Regions from separate parts of the Homo sapiens genome. Here region 2 is linked to region 1. The links are contacts of gene promoters, found by promoter capture Hi-C in human tissues and cell types (Jung and others, 2019). All regions are on one chromosome and are shown on one strand. The core of a region is centred on a gene start or on the middle of the fragment in contact, and the rest is flanking DNA. Distances in the headings are between cores, read along the strand shown.

Region 1 (7,934 bases), core at 3,418-5,917:
CCAGGAGTCACATGCCACCACTCCTGGCTAGTTTGTTTGTTTGTTTGAGATGGAGTCTTGCTCTGGTGCCCAGGCTGCAGTGCAGTAGTGCGATCTCAGCTCACTGCAACCTGCGCCTCCCAGGTTCAAGCTATTTTCCTGCCTCAGCCTCCCAAGTAGCTGGGACTACAGGCGAACAACAACACCATACCCGGCTAATTTTTGTATTTTTAGTAGGGATGGGGTTTCGCCATGTTGGCCAGGCTGGTCTCAGACTCCTGACCTCAGGTGATCCACCCTCCTTGGCCTCCCAAAGTGCTGGGATTACAGGCGTGAGCCATCGCCCTGGCCAAGCAAGCCTGTTTAAGCCTCAAACTGATGAGTGGCAGGTGCCACGTAAACTACCTTCAAATTCTCTGTTCTTCACCCTGCCCTTATCCAGAACTGAGTGACTAGCATGTTACTAAGCCTTAATAATGGCCATGAATTTGGAAGACCTAGAGTGTGAGTTCAACCTCAGAAGTGTGGTGAGCTTATAAAGGAAGACAGAGCTTAATAAGAGAAGGCCCTTCATACAATGATGAGTAGTCTTCTTAAAATTGAGGTGGAAAAAATTCTGAATGAACTTATCAAAACCCCAAAAGCCACAAAGGACATTTTAAAAATATCATTTTTCTATGCCTGAAACACTGATTCCATGAATCATTTTACTTGGAGAGAAAAAGAAAATTATTATCAGCAAGTAAAAAACGGCTGGGCACAATGGCTCCCGCCTGTAATCCTAGCACTTTGGTAGGCCAAGGCAGGTGGATCACCTGAGGTCAGGAGTTCGAGACCAGCCTGACCAACATGCAGAAACCCCGTCTCTACTAAAAATACAAAAATTAGCCGGGCGTGGTGATGCACACCTGTAATCCCAGCTGCTAGGGAGGCTGAGGAAGGAGAATCGCTTGAACCCAGGAGGTGGAGGTTGCAGTGACCCGCGATCACGCCACTGCACTCTGGCCTGCACGACAGGAGTGAGACTCCAGCTCAAAAACAAACAAAAAAAATTTGGTCAATGAATAGAAAACTAGAGCAGAAGCTTTAGAAGGAAAAATATCGACACTCAAGAAAAAAATTAAATCAGCTTTAAAAAACAAGGTTCAGTCTTCAACATCAAAGCAGAAATAGCACACAAAAAGATAACATGCAAAACGACATTCTGATAAAATAAACAATATTAAGCCATTTCCTAGGAAGAGATCACACTGGACCCAACTTAATAAGTAGGTTGAACATTTAACCTAACGAAATCTGCATGAACACAGTAGGCAAACATTAGAAGAAGCAAGGTCAGGTCCCAGTACTGAGGGAAAACTGTTGATAGAAAATGAAACATTCTGCTTCCACTGGAGTAGAAAAAGTTACTCAAGGCAAGGAGATATCACAGAGGACAAATTTATTCTCACTGGGCACCTGAAGGCACAGGATTAAATACTTTAAACAGCAACACTAATTCAGAAATATTTTAAAGGGCATTTGTCAGTGGGGCAAATGTGGGGATAAACTGGAACCTCATCCTAAAAACAAACAGGAACCATAGGACTAAGAAATTCCAAAAGGCAATAAAAACAGTAAAAGTATAGAGGTCAACCTAAGGCTCAGAAATCTTTGGAATCCTGATACAGAAGAAAAAAGAGAGCAGGAGAATGGAAATGGAGGAACACTGGACTATAAATCTGAATGCACATGTTTACATTCCATGCAAAGGACTGGGCTATTTCAAATTGTCACTCAGAAAGAGAAAGCAATTTGTAAGATGCTGGAATTCACTTCCCAGATTAGGGATTTAAGAGTGTCATAATTAACTTAATAGACTTCTCCCAAAAGAGTTATAAACATCCCAGTCATGGCCTCTGGAAAACTAGCAGAGATGGGCAAGTTGTTTATTTAACAACTAAGGTAAGACTGAAGCCATGCACTTTTTTTTTTCTTTCTTTCTTCCATTTTCTCTATCTACCCGCTTCTCTCAAATTACATCATGTCTTTGGATGAGTAATACCAATGTGGGCCTAGATTATAGCTACTGAATCAAGGGAATATCGTTGTTGCTGCAATGTGAGAAAACTGGTGCTTACATTACAAACTCCTACACTAATAGCAGATTATACTTGATTTGTAAATCTTTGTGAATGTGGAGCTGGTTCTAAATATTCTCATGTGCCCTGTTTATCCTCTAGAGTTTGTTAATATAGAATACAGAAAAGCCTTGAGAACAGAGTAACCCAACTTTGTAGCTGCTGAAGGAGGTATATTATCAGTCAACGCGGAAGACAGCCTCTCAACTGTGAATAATGAAGAAGGAAATTAGACCCCAATCAGACACCTGAGTGCCCTTCTGGGCTTGACTAAATAAATAGAAGAATTGGGGGTATATATAATTGGGTTTTGTTTTTGTTTTTGTTTTTGAGACGGAGTCTTGCTCTCTTGCCCAGGCTGGAGTGCAGTGGCGTAATCTCGGCTCACTGCAACCTCCGCCCTCTGAGTTCAAGCAATTCTGCCTCAGCCTCCCAAGTAGCTGGGATTACAGGTGTGCGCCACCACGCCCGGCTAATTTTTTGTATTTTTAGTAAAGATGGGGTTTCACCATCTTGGCCAGGCTGGTCTTGAACTCCTGACCTCACAATCCATCTGCCTCGGCCTCCCAAAGTGCTGGGATTACAGGCGTGAGCCACCGCGCCCGGCCTATAATTGGGGTCTTTAACTTCTCAGAAGAGCAAGGAATTGGGATAATGAGAAGACGTTTATGGTTAAATTTTAAAGGATAGCAACAAATTGGGGGCATTTTTTAACAATATTATTTGGGCTATTCTATTACTTGCCGCATAAATACATTTACCTTATCTACAGAGCTTGGAAAGACACTGATGCTGAGGATAATTTCAAACAGGAAGTAGAATACAGAATGGTTTTTTGGGTTTTGTCTGTTTATTTGCTTGAGACAGGGTCTCGTTCTGTCACCTAGGCTGGAGTGCAGTAGCTAGATCTCGGCTCACCGCAACCTCCGCCTCCTGGGTTCCAGAGATGCTCGTGCCTCAGCCTCCCCAGTTGCTGGGATTACAGGCATGCGCCACCATGCCCGGTTAATTTTTTTTTTTTTTTTTTTTTTTGTATTTTTAGTAGAGACGGGGTTTCGCCATGTTGGCCAGGCTGGTCTAGAACTCCTGGCCTCAAGTGATCCGCCCACCTCGGCCTCCCCAAGTGCTGGGATTACAAGCGTGAGCCACCACGCCGGGCTCAGAATGGTTTATAATGTGGCCTGTAACACATTTAATTAGCATCCTGCCCTGCTCCCTTGCAAAGGCTTCTGGGAGCACCAACAATGAGGCACTCATTGGGATTGATCTGCCCATCTAGTTGGTCCACAGTAGTTACACAGAAAGGACAGACCCTTGGGAGAAACAAGCCCACGAAGGCCCAGTAAGGGCTTTTCTGATTTTTCTGATTTTCTAGCCAGACTCCATGGGAAACAGAAACCAAAATTTAAACCAAAGTTAGGAACACTGGCCTCTAAACAACAATCCAGGCTCCTGATACTCACCTCATTCCACTAACAAAGGAGAAATACCAAAGGTAATTACCCGTCCTAAGTGCTAGGGACCTGATTCCTCTCTTGGGCAGCCTTCCCTGAGTCTACCCTTTCCAGCTCCCACAACCCTACACCAGGTTTCTTGGTGGGAGCAATCCTGCTGCTCCTATTACTGATACAGCATTCGGTGAAAATTCCCCTTTTAGGCCGGGCGTGGTGGCTCACGCCTGTAATCCCAGCACTCTGGGAGGCCAAGGCGGGCGGATCACCTGAGGACACGAGCTGGAGACCAGCCTGGCCAACGTGGTGAAACCCCGTCTCTACTAAAAATACAAAAAATGAGCCGGGCGTGGTGGCGGATGTCTGTAAGCTCAGCTACTCGGGAGGCTGAGGCAGAAGAATCGCTTGAACTTGGGAGGCGGAGGTTGCGGTGAGCCGAGATCGCGCCATTGCACTCCAGCCTGGGCAACAAGAGCGAAACTCCGTCTTGAAGAAAAAGAAAAAAAATTCCCCTTTTAGTGTGAGCCTCTGAAGCCACTACTCTGGGGAGATGATAGGAGAGGATGGATTTGGACTCTGAAAAGGTAGTGATAACACATCTCCTTTTTTATTGCACTGCCCCAGTAAACTGAGTTGTACAAACAGAAAAAACTCGAAACCCTTCTGTCAACTTTTTTCGCGGGGAAGAGTCACGGAAACTGGAAACGGGAAATGGGAATTCACGTCTATCGCAGCCTCCTAGGTGGCAAACGCTTAGCCTGAACACCTCTTCAATAACCCTGTTAAGTAGACACGGTCATTATCCCCACTTACGGAGAAGAAAACCGCGGGTCGGAAAGGTCAAATATCTTATCCAGGGAACAGGGCTGGTAAAGCGCGGGGCTCCGATGAAATCCTCCAGTCTCCCGAGAGCCAGGAGCAAACTGGGTTTGGGCCGCTGCGCCCCGCACAGCCCAGACCCCAGCCATCAACTGCGACTGCGGCGGGCAGGCGGGAGAACTGACCTGAGGGGCGGAGGGCACGGCTGAGCGGCGCCCGACAGAAGGACAGGGGCCTGCTGTCCTGAGAGACGCGGCTGGTACGGCGTTCCTAAGAATCTTTTCGATCGCCGGGTTGTGGCCGCTTCCGCCCGCCAAGGGAATCAAATCTCCCGGGCCGGAAGGGGCGGGGACGCGGCGGGGGCGCGCGCGGCGCCGGATCCCAGGGAAGCGGACGCGCACGGCAGGCGGGGGCGCGCACAGTGCCGGGGGGTTCTCACCGGGGCAACGGCTCGCGGTCGCTGTGGAGCCGTGAAAGGGATGGCCGGGAGGTCCACTGGGCTGCGAGGGGTGACTTGAGGCCTTGGTCTTGCCCCGGAGGGCACGTGATGATTTTCCAGGTGGCGTGGATATGCCAAGTCTCCACAGAACCCAACTTTCTTACGTTCTCTTCCTAAAATTGACGTGCCCTCTGGCAGTCACAGTTCTCATTTTCGTCCTCCCTTGCCCACTGGCCGTTCTCCCACCCAGCAAAGACAGGAATACCTCCCCCTCTCCAAAATGTGTTGCCACGAGGAATAAGAACCCCAGTAGCTGAGACTACAGGCACGCGCCACCACGCCTGGCTAAATTATTTGTGGGTAGAGACGGGATCTCGCTATGTTGGCCAGGCTGGTCTCGAACTCCTGGGCTCAAGCGATCCTCCCGCCTCAGCCTCCCAAAGTGCTGGGATTACAGGCGTGAGCCACTGTATCCGGCCCAGAAAATCTTTAGACAAATTAAACTTTACAGAGTTGAATTGACCAAAGAATGAGTCCAAAATCCAGTAATCCCTGGAACCAAAATAGGTTCAGAGTGATTCGGGCTGCCATATGTTCAAATAACATTTATGGACAGAAAAAGGAAAATGACTTACAGAAATTGCAGTCAAGTATGGAAACAGCTGGATTGGTTGCAACTCAACCTCTGACTATTTTGAGCACTGTTTAAACAGTTGGCCACCTGTGATTGGCCAAAACTCCGCTGCTGTGATTGACTGAGACTCGCTACTTGTTACAAGGTTACAGTCTCTTTACACATTTACAATTGTAGTTGTCTACAATTCACTATGTATGGAGAAACTGTTAGGCCAGGTGCAAAGGCTCACATCTATAATCCCAGCACTTTGGTGGGGGGGCGGGGGCAGATCATTTGGGGTCAGGAGTTCGAGACCAGCCTGACCAACATGATGAAACCCTGTCTCTACTAAAAATACAAAAAATTAGCCGGGCTTGGTGGCGCGAGCCTATAATCCCAGCTACTCAGGAGGTAGAGGCAGGAGAATCTCTTGATTCTCTCTGCTGGGAGGCAGAGGTTGCAGTGAGTAGAGATCGTGCCACTGCACTCCAGGCTGGGCAACAGAGCAAGACTCCGTCTCAAAAAAAGAGAAAGAGAGAAAGAGAGAGAGAAAAGAAAGAAAGGAAGAGAAGGGGAAGGGAAGGGGAAGGGAGGGGAAGGGAGGGGAAGGGAAGGGAAGGGAAAGGAAAGGAAGGGAGAGAAAGGGAGAGAGAGAAAGAAATAAATTGTTAGTCTGAACTTAAAATGCATAAGGAGGCAGCTTTATGCTAAACTTAATTTAACATGGTCATCTGAATCTTCAGCAAATCATAATCTTTTTGCTGGTGGAGGGTCTTGCCTCCATGCTGCTGATTGATCAGGGTGGTGGTTGCTAAACGTTGGGATGGCTGTGGCAATTTCCTAAAATAAAACAACAATGCTGCATCGATGGACACTTCCTTTCATGAAAGATTTCTCTGTAGCATGTGATGCTGTGTGATACCATTTCATCCACAGCAGGACTTCCTTCAAAGTTAGTTCTCTGAAATCTTGCCACTGCCTTATCAACAAAGTTTATGGAATATTCTAAATCTTTTGTTGTTATTTCAGCAATGATCACAGCATCTTCACCAAGAGGAGCTTCCATCTCAAGAAAGCACTCTCTCTTTGCTCATCCGTAAGAAGAAACTCCCCATCTATTCAAGTTGGATCATGAGATTGCAGCAGTTCAGTCACATATTCAGGCTTCACTTCCAATTCTAGTTCTCTTGCTGTTTCCACCAAATCTGCAGTTACTTCCACGAGTGAAGTCTTGAACCCCTCAAAGTCATCCATGAGGGTTGGAATTAATTTCTTCCCAACTCCTGTTAATGTTGATATGGTGACCTCTTCCCATTAATCATAAATGTTCTTTTTTTTTTTTTTGGAGATGGAGTCTCACTCTGTCACCCAGGCTGGAGTGCAGTGGCGTGGTCTCGGCTCACTGCAAGCTCCGCCTCCTGGGTTCACGCCATTCTCCTGCCTCAGCCTCCTGAGTAGCTGGGACTACAGGCGCCCACCACCATGCCCGGCTAATTTTTTTGTATTTTTAGTAGAGATGGGGTTTCACCATGTTAGCCAGGATGGTCTTGATCTCCTGACCTCATGATCCGCCTGCCTTGGCCTCCCAAAGTGCTGGGATTACAGGCGTGAGCCACCGTGCCCGGCCATAAATGTTCTTAATGACATCTAGAAGAGTTAATTCTTTCCAGAAGGCTTCCATTTTACTTTGCCCAGATCCAGCATAAAATCACTATCTATGGCATCTGTAACCTCACAAAATGTATTTTGTAAATAAAATGACTTGACAGTCAAAATCATTCCTTGATCTATGGCCTACAGAATGGATGTTATGTTAGCAGACATCCAAACAACATTCATTTCCTTGTACATCTCCATCAGAGCTCGTGGGTGACTAGGGGCATTATCAATGAGCATTAATATTTTGAAAGGAATCTTTTTTTCTTAGAAGTAGGTCTCAAAAGTGGGCTTAAGGTATGCAGTAAACCTTAGCCAGCTGTGGCGGCATATGCTGGTAATACCAGCTCTTCAGGAGACTGAGGCAGGAGGATCACTGGAGCCCAAGAGTTCGAGGTTACTGTAAGCTATAATTACGTCACCGCATTCCAGCATGGGTGGCAGAGTGAGACCCTGCCTCAAAAAAACAAACAAACAAACAAAAAAGATATTCAGTAAACCCTAGTATAAACAGTTATACTGTCATCTAGGCTTTGTTGTTCCATTTATAGAGCATAGGCAGAGTAGATTCAGCATAATTCATAAGGGCTCCGGGATTTTCAGACTGGCAAATGCACACTGGCTTCAACTCCAAGTCACCAGCTGCGTTAGCTCCTAACAAGAGAGTCAACCTGTCCTTTGAAGATTTGAAGCTAGGCATTGACTTCTTCTCTTTAGCTAAGAAAGTTCTAGATGGCTCCTCTTCCAACCTAGAACTATTTCCTCTACATTGAAAATTTGTTATTCAGTGGAGCCACCTGCATCAATGATCTTAGCCAAATCTTCTGTATAACTTGCTGCAGCTTCTACATCCG
Region 2 (7,934 bases), core at 2,514-5,013, 44 kb after region 1:
ACAGCAGCTCACATCTGTAATCCCAGTACTTTGAGAGGCTGAGGTGAGCAGATCACTTGAGGTCAGAAGTTCAAGACCAGCCTGGCCAACATGGTAAAAACCCATCTCTACTAAAAATACAAAAATTAGCCGAGCATGGGGGCACAAGCCTGTAGTCCCAGCTACTCAGGAGGCTGAGGCAGGAGAATCGCTTGAACCCGGGAAGTGGAGATTGCAGTGAGCCAAGATTCCGCCATTGCACTCCAGCCTAGGTAACAGAGTGAGACTCTGTCTCAAAAAGAAAAAAAAAAAACTTGAATTTAAAAATCATAAAAGAAAAAGGCTGTGGGCCCTACAACTCATCATTGATCATCATTGATCCTTCACTACAGAAGGTCTCTGTACTTTGGCTGAGATGAGAATGGGCACAGGCACTGAGGAGCACTCTGACCACAGCTGGTGCTCCAGAGTTTCTTCCCCACGAGGGCAAACACCTAGAGGTGGCACAGGGAAGGAGAGTTGGGAGAATATCACGTAGTGCAGTCAGCAAGCATCACAGTTTTGCTGGACCCTGGGGGATGTAAAGGGGAGCATTGGGAAACAGATGTGGCAAGGAGACCCTCGAATGCCAGGCTGAAGGGCTTTATCTGTATCAGAGGCAATGAAGTCTGCTGGAGTTTTTGAGCAGAGAATGCTTCTGAAATAAATGCTTTCCTGAGGGTTTTATTGATTCACCTTTGATTCCTTCTTAATGCCTTTTGGAATTCTGAGAAATTCACAAAGCCAGTTAGTAAAGACCCTCCTCCAGAATTATATCAAACTCATAACCTTTAGTCCTCTGATGATCCCCAGAAGCCTGAATAGTGACTGTCAGCTTTGGTTTAAGACTTATTGTATCCTTTTCTAAGACCAGGGAGAGGCCTTCATGGAACTTGTTCAGAGTCCAGAGTATCTACCTTTCTAATTCCATTTTTCTCACCTCCTGCTCGCTTCTTATACGCTGCAATCTTATTTCCCATTCCACTATTCTTCTTCTTTGTCTTCGTCTTCTTTTTTTTTTCTTTTTTTTATTTTTTAGATGGCATCTCGCTCTGTCACCCAGGCTAGAGAGTGCAGTGGCATGATCTTCACTCACTGCAGTGTCCGCCTCCCGGGTTGAAGCCATTCTGCTGCCTCAGCCTCCCGAGTGGCTGGGATTACAGGTGCATGCCACCACACCAGGCTAATTTTTTGTATTTTTAGTAGAGATGGGTTTCACCACATTGGCCGGGCTGGTCTCGAAGTCCTGACCTCAGGTGATCCGCCTGCCTCAGCCTCCCACAGTGCTGGGATTACAGGCATGAGTTGTGATGCCCAGCCTCTACTATTCTTCTTAAACCACTCTCACGCAGAATACCAATTCTATCAATTAGGACTCCGTGTTAGTATATCTATTGCTACATAATAAACTACCCCAAAATTTAGTTGCATTAAAACAATGATAATCTGGGCACGTGCTCTCAGACCAGCCTGGCTAACATAGCGAGACCCCATCTCTACTAAAAATACAAAAAATTTAGCTAGGCATGGTGGCACATACCTGTAATCCCAGCTACTCAGGAGGCTGAGGCAGGAGAATTGCTTGAACCCAGGAGGCGGAGGTTGGATTGAACACAGCCAGAATGGCATGTCTCTGCTCCAGGATGGCCAGGGTCTCATTTGGAATATTTGAATGCTGGGGGCTAGAATCACCTGAAGGCTCATTCACTCACATCTGGTGATAGATTCTGGCTGTCCTGAGACCTAAGATTGTTGGCTAGAACACCTACATGTGACCTCTCCAAGTGGCTTAGGTTTCCTTAAAATATAGAGGCCAGGTTACAAAGGTAAGCACTGAGAGAGAGAGAAAGAGACAATCTGTACCTTGTAAGTCAATAGCATCATGGTGCCATACTCCTTGGTTACGGCAACCACAAGCCCCACCCAGGGGTGGGAAAACAAACCCCACCCAATAGTGGGAAGAGTACCAGTTATTGCAAGAAGAGCATGTGGAATGGGATAAATATACTGATGGAACCATCTTTGGAAAAATACAATCTCCTGAAGATTCTTTGCTTTCATGTAAGAGAAAACCCAAACCTAAATGGCTTTCAAAAGGGGCAATTTATTGGCTCACGTATGTGAAAACTCCAGGGGTTGGGCTGACTCCAAATAAGGCTTGACTGAGTCTAGAGCTATGTCACCAGAACCCACTTTCTCTTTTTCATCTCTGGGTTCAGTTTTTCCTGTGCTGGCTCGAGCCTCAGGCAGATTCTCCCCCTCAAGATGCTGCTGCGGCTCAATCCACATATCTTCTCTTAATCAATTACTGCAGGAAAAGAAAAGTCTGCTTCTCTGACAGTTTATAAAAATATCCTGGAAAGTGAGTTTCTTTGGCCCCAATTGTCCTGACTTGGCTCTTATGCCTGTCCCTGAACAATTCACTGTCATCAAGGAAATGTTCTATGTGAATTGGCTAAGGCTTAAGTCAACATAGCCACCTGTGGCCCTAGGGACAAAATCAGCATCATTATAAGTCACAAGTCTTCTGTAACAGACATTAATTCAAGTACAAGGACAGACTTTACATCAGGAGTTGACATCAGGGGTGTATTTTTCTCACATCATAAAAAGTCTGAAGTCAGGCCAGGCGCTGTAGCTCACACCTGTATTCCCAGCACTTTGGGAGGCCAAGGCGGGTGGATCATTTAAGGTCAGGAATTTGAGACCAGCCTGGCCAACATGGTGAAAACCCTGTCTCTACTAAAAATACAAAAATTAGCCAGGCATAGTGGTGCACGCCTGTAATCCCTGCTACTTGGGAGGCTGAGGCAGGAGAATCACTTGAACCTGGAAGGCAGAGGTTGCAGTGAGCCGAGATTGACTGCACCACTGCACCCCAGTCTGGGCAAGAAAATGAGACTCTGTGTCAAAAACACACACACACAAAAGTCTGAAGTCATATAGTAACATGTCGACCCAGTGGCTCAAGGACTTGGGGTTGGTAGAGCTGGGATTCTCTTGATTTTTTACTGTTTCTCACAAGATGGGTGTCCCAATTCCAGTTATGTATCTTTTGTTTGTTTGTTTGCTTGTTTGTTTTTTGAGACAGAGTCTCGCTCTGTCACCCAGACTGGAGTGCAGTGGCACGATCTCTGCTCACTGCATCCTCCGCCTCCCAGAGGCGATTCTCCTGCCTCAGCCTCCCAAGTAGCTGGGATTACTGGGGCGCGCCACCATGCCCAGCTAATTTTTGTATTTTTAGTAGAGACGGGGTTTCAACATGTTGGCCAGGATGGTCTTGATCTCTTGACCTCATGATCCACCCACCTCGGCCTCCCAAAGTGCTGGGATTACAGGCGTGAGCCACCCCATCTGGCCATGTCTTTTATTTTTATTTCTATTATTTTTTTGAGATGGAGTCTCACTCTGTCACCCAGGCTGGAGTGCAGTGGCACCTCTTGGCTCACTGCAATCTCCTGCTCCCGGGTTCAAGTGATTCTCCTGCCTCAGCCTCCCCAGTAGCTGTGATTACAGGTGCATGCCACAAAGCTTGGCTAATTTTTGTATTTTTTTTTAGATGGAGTCTCCTTTCGCCCAGGCTGGAGTGCAGTGGCATAATCTCGGTTCACTGTAACCTCCACTTTCTGGGTTCAAGCGATTCTGCATCAGCCTCCCAAGTAGCTGAGATTACAGGCGCCTGCTTCCACATCCGTCTGATTTTTGTATTATTTTATTTTTTTTTTTATTTTTTTTTTTGAGATGGAGTCTTGCTCTGTTGCCCAGGCTGGACTGCAATGGCGCGATCTCGGCTCACTGCAACCCCTGCCTCCCAGGTTCAAGTGATTCTCCTGTCTCAGCTTCCCAAGTAGCTGGGATTACAGGCGCATGCTGCCACGCCCGGCTAATTTTTGTATTTTTAGTAGAGACAGGGTTTCACCATGTTGGCCAGGCTGGTCTCAAACTCCTGACCTCAGGTGATCCGCCTGTCTCAACCACCCAAAGTGCTGGGATTATAGGCATGAGCCACTGTGCCAGGCCTAATTTTTGTATTTTTAGTAGAGACAGGATTTCACCATGTTGGCCAGGCTGATCTGAAACTCCTGACCTCAAGAGATCTGCCTGCCTCGGCCTCCCAAAGTGCTGGGATTACAGGTGTGAGCCACTGTGCCCGGCCCAGTTCTAGTCATTTATATCTACCTGGATATCATGTCTGTTTTGGGATACATACCATCTGGCCACTGCTTGCTATAAGGTTGTTGGGAAAGTGAGTACAAGTGAGGCAGGCAAGGGAAAACAGGGTTGGGAATGAGAATGGGGTTATTCAACCCACAGTCTGCCATATCACACCCTGGACATAGAAATGCATCAGCTGGTACTTGGGAGGCAGGCGGATCACTAGAGTTCAGGAGTTCGAGACCAGCCTGGCCAATGTGTTGAAACCCTGTCTCTATTAAAAATACACACACACACACACACAAAAATAGCTGGGCATGGTGGTGTGTGCCTGTAGTCCCAGCTATCTGAGAGGCTGAGGCAGGAGAATCACTTGAACTTGGGAGGCAGATGTTGTGATAAGCCGAGATTGTACCACTGCACTCCAGCCTTGGCGACAGAGCAAGACTGTCTCAAAAAAAAAAAAAAAAAAAGGATGTCTCTTCCCCGGAAAAATTGGAGTACACGTAGCGTAAGAGGTCTAAGGAGACTTTGGATGGCAAACATGAGAAATGACCACAATTCTAGTGTCCTTCCCTTTAATTCTGCCAAAGTATTTTCTTTCTATGGAAAGCTCAGAATAAATCCTGCTGATCTCTTACTGGTAATTGCCAAGCTCTGTAGAAATTTAAGACATTTTCTTATCGGATCTCATTTTTTGTTTGACCCTGTTGATTACTCCCTCCCTTCTGCAGCTCCTCACTTATTCATTAAAACTCCATTTCCTGGCCTGGATGGGTGGCTCACGCCTATAATCCTAGCAATTTGGGAGGACGAGGTGGGTAGATTGCTTGAGCTCAGAAGTTCAAGACCAGCCTGGGCAACATGACAAAACCCTGTCTCAACCAAAAATACAAACATTAGCCAGGTGTGGTGGCTTGCACCTGTAGTCCCAGCTACTTGGGGGGTTGAGGTAGGAGGATCCCTGAGCCCAGGAGCCGGAGGTTGCAGTGAGCTGAGATCATGCCACTGCACTCCAGCCTGGGTACGAGTGAGACCCTGTCTCAAAAACAAAAACAGGCCGGGCTCGGTGGCTCACGCCTGTAATCCCAGCACTTTGGGAGGCCGAGGCGGGCAGATCACCTGAGGTTGGGAGTTCGAGACCAGCCTGGCCAACATGGAGAAACCCTGTCTCTGCTAAAAATACAAAATTAGCTGGGCATGGTGGCACATGCCTGTAATCCCAGCTACTCGGGAGGCTGAGGCAGGAGAATCACTTGAACCCGGGAGGCGGAGGTTGCGGTGAGCTGAGATTGCGCCATTGCACTCCAGCCTGGACAACAAGAGTGAAACTCTGTTTCAAAAAAAACAAAAACAAAAACAAAAAAACCTCCATTTCCCATGGCCTGGCATGGTGGCTCACACCTGTAATCCCAGCACCATCACTTTGGGAGGCTGAGGTAGGAGGATCGCTTGAGGCCAAGAGTTCAAGACCAGTGTGGGCAACATAGCAAGACACTGTCTGAAACAAAAACACCAAAAAACTCTGTTCCCCTTGGTTCTGTGAAACTGAGCTCCCTTGGTTGTACTTGCACCTCTCTGATCATGTTATTTGTGCATTTGAGAGGCCCTTTTTCCTTTCCCTGTCCCACACCTATGAAATGGACTGTGGCCAAATTCTCATTCAGTCTGCTCTCTTCTTTTTGTCATTTTTCTTGAACTGACTGCTCAGTTCAGGTATTTTCATTCTTAGTTCTACAATAAAGAAATTTAAGGTTGTTAATCTTCTTGTAAGTGGAGATTTGGCCCGTTCCCATAAGCTCTGTTACGTAGTGCTCTCCTTTTAGTAAATATCTAAATAGATTTTGCTTTCCTTGAATTTATTTTGTGATATGAATAATGCATAGTCCGCTTTCTTTTTGTTTGCACTTGCCTGTTGTCTTTTCCTAAAGGTTACGTTTAATGTTTCTGCTCATTCATATGTTGCATACACTTGACTTAAATACATACACTTGACTTCCATCTACTACGCATACTAACCCTCTTGACTTGCCATTAGTTTAAATGCCAGTGGCTGCACACCCAGGGATTTCTGAATTTGTGGCCCACTACTAAAAGCACTTTGAATGTCCTTGATATTCTTCATGTAAGAGATACTCCTGGCCAGGCACGGTGGCTCACGCCTGTAATCCTAGCACTTTGGGAGGCCAAGGAGGGTGGATCACCTGCGGTCAGGAGTTCAAGACCAGCCTGGCCAACATAGTGAAACCCCGTCTCTACTAAAAAAAATATAAAAAATTAGCTGGGCATGGTGGCGGTTGCCTGTAATCCCAGCTACTAGGGAGGCTGAGGCAGGAGAATCGCTTGAACCTAAGAGGCGGAGGTTGCAGTGAGCCGAGATCATGCCATTGCACTCCAGCCTGGGCAACAAGAGTGAAACTCCGTCTCAAAAAAAAAGAGATACTCCCTTAACAGGGGATGTATCTCCTGTAAGGGGATGAACTGTGCCAACTGAATCAGGTAGGGTTCTTTGGTTGCAAGCAACAGAAAGCGGTCATGTTTAACTTAAGAAAAAATGATATGAGCTAACTCACAGAAGAAAGGGAATGGCTGAAGAACCAAATCCCCTATCACTTACAGGGGAACATGCAAATTTATTAAACATAGTGTAAAATGTCTTTCATTCCTTTCCCTTAGCCAGACACTGTTCCAAGCGCTAGGAAACCAGTGGAGAACATGATAAAAACAACCTCTGTTTTGAAGACAAATATAGCTAGCACTGATCTGGATCCATGCCTATGGCCCAACAGGCTCTTTTCCTACCACATTTCAATACATACCCTGAATACAACAGCCAGGCACTTCCCTGGTGCACCAGACTCTTTAATGTTTCCATAACTTTGATCACGAAATTTTCTCTGTACTCATTATCCTTTCCTGCAAAGTCCTCTCTCACATCTTTGCTTGGTGACCTTATTCTACTCAGTCTTCAAAAATCAAACAAAAGGTCACCACTATTAGGAGATCAACAACCTCCGCCCCCCTTTTCCTTTTCAATTCAAAACTATTTTAGTTGTAGTCAAAGATGCTGGCTGATTAAGATTAAAATGTCATTTTCATTATTAATAAAGTCTAGGTTGGAGAACATGGCTTATGTTTGAGGCCAAATGACGTTATTAATATTTGGTTTTATGCTGGGCACGGTGGCTCATGCCTGTAGTTCTAGCACTTTGGGAGGCTGATCTAGGAGGATCTCTGGAGCCCAGGAGTTCAAGACCAGCCTGGGCAACATAGGGTAACCCTGTCTCTACCAAAAAAAAACAAAAACAAAAACACTACCTGGGCTTGGTGGCATATGCCTGAGTAGTTGGGAAGCTACTCAGGAGACTGAAGTGGGAGGATCACTTGAACCCAGGAGCTTAAGACCAGGCTGGGCAACATAAGGAGACCATATATCTACAAATAATTTTTTTTTAATTAGCTGAGAATGATGGTGTGCATCTGTGGTCCCAGCTACTCGGGAGGATGAGCCTGGGAGGTCGAGGCTGCAATAAGCCATGATTTCACCACTGAATTCCAGCCTGGGCAAAGGGAACCAGACTCTATAAAAAAGAAAAAGATGGGCCGGGCGCAGTGGCTTATGCCTGTAATCCCAGCACTTTGGGAGGTCGAGGCAGGCGGATCACGAGCTCAAGAGATCAAGACCATCCTGGCCAACATGGTGAAATCCTGTTTCCACTAAAAATACAAAAATTAGCTGGGCGTGGTGGCGGGCACCTGTA

What was found. The method cuts DNA at HindIII sites, captures the fragments that hold promoters and counts their contacts. A contact is called where the count stands out against the background at its distance.
Region 2: a contact is called between a fragment that was not itself captured here and the fragment with the promoter of MELK in region 1, in 1 of the 25 tissues and cell types used here (stomach).

Annotation. Positions count from the first base shown.
Region 1 is chr9:36,569,628-36,577,561 of GRCh38, reverse strand. MELK (maternal embryonic leucine zipper kinase) reads right to left here and starts at 4,667. Exons shown (of 18, transcript NM_014791.4): 1 at 4,555-4,667. RefSeq lists a silencer at 4,586-4,865 and an enhancer at 5,449-5,948. The HindIII fragment of the contact is 26,418 bases long and covers 1-7,934 here.
Region 2 is chr9:36,525,063-36,532,996 of GRCh38, reverse strand. No RefSeq gene overlaps it. Among named protein-coding and RNA genes, the nearest start is that of MELK, 44 kb to the left of the region's middle. The HindIII fragment of the contact is 9,163 bases long and covers 1-7,934 here.